2 separate regions of the Homo sapiens genome follow, and region 2 is linked to region 1. Evidence: promoter capture Hi-C in 16 types of primary human blood cells and fetal thymus (Javierre and others, 2016). All regions are on one chromosome and are shown on one strand. The core of a region is centred on a gene start or on the middle of the fragment in contact, and the rest is flanking DNA. Distances in the headings are between cores, read along the strand shown. Region 1 holds the start of RAB32 (RAB32, member RAS oncogene family). Region 2 overlaps ADGB (androglobin).

Region 1 (4,475 bases), core at 1,234-3,733:
TTTGTAAATTGCTGGTCTGTACTTGCTGTATGGGACAACAATACCTGTTGAAACAATATCTAACATCCAGAAATCCCTTTTGGAGATCTTAAACTTTTGTTTTCCTTCCTGGCAAAACTCAAGCTTTGGATTTAGTGAAAAGTACAAGGATATCCCATCTAGGCAGATGTTTATCAGAGTCTGATAAAAAACTAGATATGACCCCTTCCTGTCATTCGAGGTCTGTGATTAATAAAAAAAGAAGAGGTGATACCAGAAAGAAAATTTGTATCTTACTCCTGCTTTTACTTTCTCAAGTTTCTAACTATAAACACTTAAAAATCTAGTTACTCATACTGATTTACCAGCAGTGGGACCCAATCGTAGTTTAATAACAAAATGCCATAATTTACATAAAGAGTAAGGCAAGGTCAATCACCCTTGTAAGCAAGGTTTTAAAACCATCTTTGTGAAAAACCTCAGCTATGCTGCAGATTCCTGGAGAATGACCGTCACATGGTAAGGCAACCTTTAGAATCCATGACTTTGTCAAGAAGCAGAAATACTGCTCATTAGGGTTCTGTGCAACGGCAGGAAGTGTTTCGAAAAAACTTCTGGCTTCAAAGATGACTTTTCAAACGAACTTTTGGTTTTTGGTAACAAAAAACAACAACAAAAAGCTGAGTCCCTGGCTGATTACTCCTTTTTTCTGAGCAACTGAGTTGCATACAGTTATTCTCCTGTCTGAGGGACAGAAATGTGCTCTTAAATGAATGAGTTATAGGTTACAATTATTTACTACTCTTTCTTATGTAACAAGCTATAAATGACAAGAGCACTACCTGGCAGACAGACAGTAGACCTGTGATCCCCCCAACCACTCTGCTACCAGCCAGGTAGCTATACCCTCCATGGGCTTCAGTGTAGGGACTGTAGAATGAAGGGTGGCCTCAGGTGTCCTCTAACCCTAAACCAGCTCCCATTCTAATGCTGTACTGCAGACTGTGCTTCTTAACACCTGTAATGATTGAACAGAGTAATTTTCGTACTTTTTTTTTTTTTTTCTGAGATAGGGTCTCACTCTGTTGACCAGGCTGGAGTACAGCAGTGAGAACACAGCTCACTGAAGCCTTGACCTCTCCTAGGGTCAAGTGATCCTCCTGCCTCAGGCTCCTGAGTAGCTGGGACTACAGGCACGCACGACCACACTTGTCTAATTTTTTGTATGTATGTATGTATATATGTATGTATGTATTTTGTAGAGACAGGGTCTCACTAACAGCCCAGGCTGGTCTCGAACTCCTGTGCTCATGCGATCCTCCAGTCTAGGCCTTCCAAAGTGCTGGGATTACAGGCGTGAGCCACTGGCACTTGGCTTGGTACCATTTCTATGAACTTTCCAATAGTTAACATCATCTTTAAAACGCCCACTCCCAACCACCACACCAGGCAAAGTTCAAGTGTTCATAAATCAGAGCAGAGGGAAATGTACCCCCTCAAACAGAACAAATGAAAGCAAATGGCAGAGAAACACTGTATTGAGGAGTGGGGGGGGGGCGGGGGGGGGCGAGGGCACCAGGGATGGGACTAGGTGTTGGTTTAGCAAGAGAGGAAGGGGTGAGTGTAAGGTTTCAGAAAAGCTTTCCCAAATCTTCACGGAGTGTCTGTCCTCGGCTTCCGATGAGAGCAAAGTATTTGAGGAATGGAGTTTCCCTCACAAAGGCCAGTCTCAGAGCCAAGGCGGGTGGTGGAAAATGATCTGGAAAGGAACCTGGCTTTTGGTCTTGGTGGTGTCACTAACTAGGAGTGCAGCTTCGGGTTAAGTCACCCAATCCCTCTGAACTTGAGTTGAGGCTGAGAGGCGCCGGCCCGCTCCAAAGCAGCCTTCTCAACTAGTCCTGGTGTATGTATGATATACTTGCATTATTCAGAGTTCAAACTTCTGGAAAAGGCCCCCTGGCCTCCTCGCCTCCCTTCAGGAGAGCGAGCTCTGGCGTGCAGGACCTGCTCCAACTCCTACTGCCCATCCCATCCTCTGGGCCCCACCGAGTCCAGCCGACCGCGTCCATCGCATCTCGCCCTTGGATTGGGCCTCTCTCTTCTCCTAAAGGTACCCAGGCAGACGAGTTCAGGCAGAAAAGAAAAAGAAAAGAAGCAGAGAGGAGCCAGGCGGCCCGGCGGGGCTCTGGAGTGGGAAACTCGCGGCCGCGCTTACCCGCGATGTCCCACAGCTGCAGGCGCACCAGAGTCCTGCTGTCCCAGTTGAGGACCTTGAGGGCGAAGTCCACCCCGATGGTGGCCCGGTAGTGCTGGGAGAAGAGCTGGTGGACGTAGCGCTTGATGATGCTGGTCTTGCCCACGCCAAGCTCGCCGATCACCAGCACCTTGAAGAGGTGCTCGCGGGTCTCGGGCGCTGGGGCGGCGGCCGCCCCCAGGCCGGGGTCCCCGGCTCCTCCGCCCGCCATGAGCGCTGCGGCTGTCGGGCGCGCCTCGACTCCGAGTCTGGCCCCCTGCCCGGCCTCGCGCTCTGCCGCCGCGCCCCCGGCGGCCGCGGAAACTCCCCCGAGGCCGGCCAGCCCTCCGCCGCGCCCGCTGACGCCGCCTGACCGGTCACAGGACCCAGAACCCGCCAGTGCTCGCGGCCCGGGCGGGGCCAGACGAGGGCAGGGCCGGACGAGGGCAGGGCCTGGCGCCGGCTTGGGGAGGACCCTGCGCGAGGCGGCTCCCGCCCTGCGCCTCTGAAGCCCGGCCGGGCCCAACTGGACTTCCTCTCCCGGGCGGCGCCTCCGAAGCCCGGCCGGGCCCAGCTGGACTTCCTCTCCCGGGCGGCGCCTCCTGGCGGTCGCGGCGCGGAGGGAGGCCCAGACGCCCGCTGGTGGGCCTCCGGGGAGCCGGCCTGGAGCCTTTATGGGCCCCGGAGGTTCACTGGGGGCCTGAGGAGGCGCCGAGGTCGCTGAGCCCCCCCCGGGGCCGGGGTCGGCGTGGGGTCCGGGCCCAGCCTGGAAGCCTCTGGCCTGGAAATCCACCTCCTGCCCTACTCTCCCCGCAGGGAGAGCCACACTTGCGGGCCTTGGCTTGGGTCGCGAGCAGTCCCCTTTAGATGGGAAAGGAAGTGGCACCGTGACTTTGAACTTAACGAAGGACGGATAACACTGGGCTGGTAGTTCTGTTTTTAACTTTTTGAGTGAACCTCCGTAGGGTTTTCCATAATGGCTGTTCCAGTCCGCATTCCCACCACCAGTGTACAAGGTTCCCTTTGCTCCGCACATCACCGACACTTATTATCGCTTATCTTTTTTATAACAGTCATCCTAGCAGGTGTGAGGAGATACCTAGTGGCTTTTCCCTGTTCATTAGTGATTTTGAGCGCCTTTTCTTATACCTGTTGGCAATTTGTACTTCCTCTGGAAAAAAAAAAAAAGTCCATTCACATCCTTTGCCCGTTAGTTAACTGGGTGTTTTATTTATTTATTTTGGCTGAGTTCTGTGAACGTAATGTATTTTGGATATTAACCCCTTATCAGATATATGGCTCACAAATATTTTCTCCCAATCTATAGGCTGTTTTTTCATTTTGTTGATTATTTCCTATGCGGTGCAGAAGCATTTTAGTTGGATGAAGTCCCATTTATCTAGGTTTGCTTTGGTTGCCTGGGCTTTTGGTGTGATATTGCAAAAATCGTTGCTAAAGCCAGTGACCCAGCTATCCCTCTTCTGGGTGTATACTCAAAGGAAATGAAATCAGGATCTCAGAAATCGCTCTCAAGTTCATGCAGCATTATTCACAGTTGCGAAGATTTGGAAACAACCAAAGTGTCTGTTAACGATGAATGGATAAAGAAATTGTAATACATACATAGGCATGCACGCGCGCATATACACAGACGCACACACACACACAATGGAATATCATTCAGCCTTTAGAAGGCGATCCTGACATTTGCAACAACATGGATAAACCTGGAGGACATTATGCTAAGCGAAATAAGCCAGACACAAAAAGAAAGATACTGTGCAATATCACTTATATGTGGAATCTTAAACACACACACACACACACACACACACACGGAATACGTGGAAACAGTGGTGGTTACCAGGGGCAGGGAAGAAACGGAATGATGCAGGTCAAAGTGTACAAAGTTGCAGTTATATAGGATGAATGAGTCCTAATGATCTAATGTAGCATGAGCGTTATAGTTAATAATATTGTATTTTAAACTGGAAATTTGCTAAGAGAGTAGACTGTAAGTGCTGTTACCATTAAAAAAAAATTGCAGCCAGGTGTGGTGGCACCCACCTGTAGTCCCAGCTACCCAGAAGACTGAGGTGGGACGACTACCTGAGCCTGGGAGGTCCAGGCTTCAGTGAGCTTAATCGCACCACTGTATTCCACCTGGGCGACAGAGTGAGACCATCTCAAAAAAAAAAAAAAAAAAAAAGAAAAGAAAAAATGAAAAGAAAAAATTGTGTAACTATGTGAGATGATGGACATG
Region 2 (4,475 bases), core at 919-3,418, 130 kb before region 1:
CCTTTATGCCAGGAAAAAGGTCTTAACAGGACTTTCTCAGCCAAATTTTAGAATTGCGAATGATGAGTGACTACAGTGTGTCCCCTGCTATTTTGTTTTATGAGTGGAGTTTATATCGCAGTTACTGTGTTCCTCTTCAAGAGTAGATGAGAGATGTGAATGGATACTTATGGGTGTATCTGTAAGCATGTGTGTGCATGTACATGACTTGGAGATCCTGGATATTTTAACTAGATGAAATTACTAGATAATAATTTAGACTGGGACTCTTGGTACGTATTGAACATATATGTGAGAAGAAGAGTGAAAGGGGTATCTGGTGATCAGGAAAGTGGAATGTGGTAAAGATTGATCATTGTTCACCAAATGGTTTCCTCTTTCTCCTGAAATGAGCGATCTTTAGCACGTCACATTCCATATTTCCAACTCCTCTTAAAGTCAGGTGTGGCCATTGGACTGAATTGTCTTCAATAGAATGAGACCAGAAGTGATATACAATACAGCTTGTTTTGATTTCAGACATCTTGCTCCTGCAATCCTCCAAGCTCTTTTCTTCCCACTGGTATAGAACTTTAGAATGCTAGAGGTAGAAGAGGCATAAAATGGAAGGAGAATGGGTCTCTTCAATGCCATTTAGAAAATAACTTCCTGCCAGTGATTAACACTAGTCTTTTTATTTTAATTGAGAAAGAAATATATATGACATTAGAATCATTTGTTAGTCATACCAGCTAGTGTACCTAAATGAATACACTTATTTTGAAAATAACAAAATGAAATCTTAAATGTCAAGTCATTATTAGGATATGCATTGGATAATATTAGATGACATGTAAATATATATAAATCTCTACATGTCTTCTGCCATTATAAAACTAAATCTCCTTGGCGTTTAAAACTGTGAGCGTCATTTTATTGTAATGACCGTTGTCATAAATATGCTACTTTGAAAAAATTAATAAAACAGGGGTTCTTTATATTAGATTTTCAGTGACTTATCAGAATTAACTACAACACCTCTAATATCAAATCATCAATAAACAATATAGACAGAGCGTGGTGACACATGCCTATAGTCCCAGCACTTTGGGAGGCCAAGGTGGGTGGATCACTTGAGGTCAGGAGTTTGAGACCAGTCTGGCCAACATGATGAAGCTCTGTCTCTACTAAAAATACAAGAATTAGCCAAGTGTAATGGCATGCGCCTGCAGTCCCAGCTACTTGGGAGGTTGAGGCACAAGAATCGCTTGAACCTGGGAGGTGGAGATTGCAGTGAGCTGAGATTGCACCACTGCACTCCAGCCTGGGCGACACAGCAAGACTCTGTGTCAAATAAACAAATAAACAAACAAACAATATAAATGTCATGTTATATTTTCCATATGAGTTTGAATTGTCACTCAATTACCTCTTGAACACTTACTGTCTATCCATTATCTCCTTTACAAGTGAAACCAAAGCAGCTGATTGAAGGAAATGAATTATAACACCATCAGAAATGCACTTAGATTTAACTCTGTGGGAGAAGGAAGTTCACATGGCCACCCTCATATTTATGCCAGATAAAGGACTCCAATAGAGTTCATTCTAACACTGTATCTTTAGCACATGTAAGAATTAACAAAGGCTTTTGCAATAAATATGCTAAAATGTAGCTCTACCAACAAGTGCTAAGCACTTTACCTGGATTCAACACTTGATTCTCACAAGGACCCTCACCAAAACAATAATGCTGATTTATAGAGATCCTGAGTTTAAAGAGGCTCTATCACTTGCCTGATACTTATACACTCAGTGTTGGAGCAGATATTGAACTCAACCAGCTTGACTCCACAGTCCAAACTGAACCACATTCTATGTGTTGGAATGACCTTAACTGTAAGTTCAGCAGGAGAAGGAAGGCATCATTACTTTTATTTTCACAAAGAAAGAACTCTCAGAAAGTTTTAGCCATTTTCACAAAGATGAAGAACCATCAGTAAATCTGCTAATGTAATGTTTCTCACTATCAAAAAATATTGCTTAAGGCATCAATATAAGAAAATGATTTTTAATGTAGAATTAAAAATACAATAGTGACTTTTTTCTATCCACATCACTAGACATGTTTCAGTAAAAATAAAAAGCCATAATTATTAAAATGTCCTCATATAAATCATCATAATAAGAAAAAAGATAAAAATTTATTAATAAGGCACACTACTAGATGTAAAAACACATATTTTTGACTAGCTAATAAAGGATGAGGTGAAAATGATAACCTGCACTCTGGAAGCACCAAGATAGATGAGCCAAAGCTGAGACTCAAAAGAGACACTCTAGTCTTCCTCCTGATAACCTCCTGAATAGGTTGCGGTATCATTTTTTTACAGCTTGTTTTCTTTCAACCTGATACAATTTGTTTAAAGGCTACTTATACCTAGACTGTTTTAGCTGGTACACAGGACAAAAATGCGGTAGCCAAGGGGTCTTTAGAAATAATTTGTAAGTCCAAATTGGAAAGATTAATTAAAATGAAAGAGCTCCAATGTGATTTTAAGTGATAGAGAAACCCTAGCATTTTCACAAAAATAGTTGACCTTTATACAATGAGGCTATTATAAATAGTTCTTGTACATCCACCCAGTCACAATGCGATACACAAAAAAGTGTGGTTGTCAGTATTGTGATATAAACAATGACTTCCAGAGTCTCCGGCCTCACAGTTACTTTCTAAAACACAGTAAAAGAGCTGGAGGCCCACTGTGAGCAAGGAGCCAGATGTAGGCTTTTTGTTTTATTTGGTGGCTGGCATCTAACCACACAAACAAGTAACTTTGAATTTACTTAATTTGGATGATAAATTCAACCTGAGTATTTTTTAGAGAAATACCTGAAAGCGACCAGCAGAAGCCTCTCCCACATGTGGATACTTCTTCTGTGACAATTGCACTGTAATTTGGACAACAGGCTTCTGTCATTGGTAGGACTTGGCCCAACACGCCCACCCATCTGAGAACCCAACATTTATGGCAACCTTGACTAAGTTTATTTAGTTATTTCAAAAGAAAAAATGTATTTCTATGTTCCAAGGTTTTCCAGCATTTTAAGAAACAACTAAAATAGTTATTATTCTAAGAAATTAGGAGCTTACAATCTGATAGGGACTGCACAGAGTACTGCACTTCTGATGAGGGTCTTGAACCATGAAGTGAGAATTTGAATTTTTCTTTTTCTCCATCTTTGCTTCTCTTCTTTCCAATGTCTCTTGCATCTGCTTTCTCTAACATATGAAAAAATCACAATAAATATTTTAACTAGACAATCTCAAACTATATTTCTTATTCAGTCATTGTCTTAAAGAAAAAAGGCCAAAATAATAGTATTATTTAATGTAAAATTATGCCATAATTTCTCCAAAACATGATCCCCTCTAATTAGAAACACCATGATAAAGCCAGGGAGAACTTTGAAAATTGAGATATATTATGAAATAAATACAGCATTGCTTTTTATCTACTGTATATAATTTTGTTTCATGGAGATAATTATTTGAATATATTTTATTTATATAAGATTATAGTATCAAGGTAATTTTCTCATTTTAAAAATAAAAACAAAACACAGCAAAGCCTGTGCTGAAAGTTAAGTCCTAAATGTAGAGCCCTCTCAGATTTTCCTTATTTGGGTCCTCCACTTACAGGAAACACAGTTTTCTGACTCCAAAATATTTTCTTGTGGAGCCCAGATTCCAACCAAAGTCCCAAACCAGCATCTTATTGCCTACATGGCTTAGGTAATAAAACTCTTGTATCCAGAACGATTCCCACCATTTGAATGCTCATTCATATACTCAATCCACAAAACATATTCTTCTTCAACCTAAAATACTTTTCTCAAAGATTTTTTTAATTCCCTAACAAATCTGTCTCAATTCTGAGACAGAAATTATAGATTTCTGTCATTTCATTCTCTGCATCATCTGCTAAGTTTGTAATCATCATTGGTCAGGTTGCTCATCTTTAAAATTTTCGTAAATAAAAACTGTGACATTATCTACTTATAATGTTTCTGAACATCCAAAATAGACATGTTTCATACCTTAGCTTTTTTTTTTCTTTTTGACAGGCTTTCACTCTGCCACCCAGGCTGGAGTGCAGTGGCGAGGTCTCAGCTCACTGCAGCATTGACCTCCCAGGCTCAGGCAATTCTCCCACTTCAGCCTCCTGAATAGCTGGGACTACAGGTGTGCACCACCACAACTTGCTAATTTTTCTTTTTCTTTTCTTTTTATTTTTCTTTTTTATAGAGACAGGATTTCACCAGGTTGTCCAGGCTGGTCTTGAACTCCTGAGCTCAAGTGGTCTGCCTGCATCAGCCTCTTAAAGTGCTGGGAATACAGGTGTGAGCAACTATGCCCGGCCCATATCTTAGCTTTTTCAGCAGATTTAACACTTAAATTAGATATAAAAGTAAAGATAACTATAACTTCAATC

What was found. The method cuts DNA at HindIII sites, captures the fragments that hold promoters and counts their contacts. A CHiCAGO score of 5 or more calls a contact.
Region 2: a contact is called between a fragment that was not itself captured here and the fragment with the promoter of RAB32 in region 1, in 2 of 17 cell types (monocytes and M2 macrophages). The highest score is 11.6, in monocytes.

What each region holds. Positions count from the first base shown.
Region 1 is chr6:146,541,841-146,546,315 of GRCh38, reverse strand. It overlaps RAB32 (RAB32, member RAS oncogene family), which reads right to left and starts at 2,483. Exons shown (of 3, transcript NM_006834.5): 1 at 2,195-2,483. The coding sequence starts at 2,444. RefSeq lists a silencer at 2,530-2,909. The HindIII fragment of the contact is 5,944 bases long and covers 1,622-4,475 here.
Region 2 is chr6:146,675,100-146,679,574 of GRCh38, reverse strand. It overlaps ADGB (androglobin), which reads right to left. Exons shown (of 36, transcript NM_024694.4): 9 at 3,134-3,262. Among named protein-coding and RNA genes, the nearest start is that of ADGB, 78 kb to the right of the region's middle. The HindIII fragment of the contact is 6,306 bases long and covers 1-4,475 here.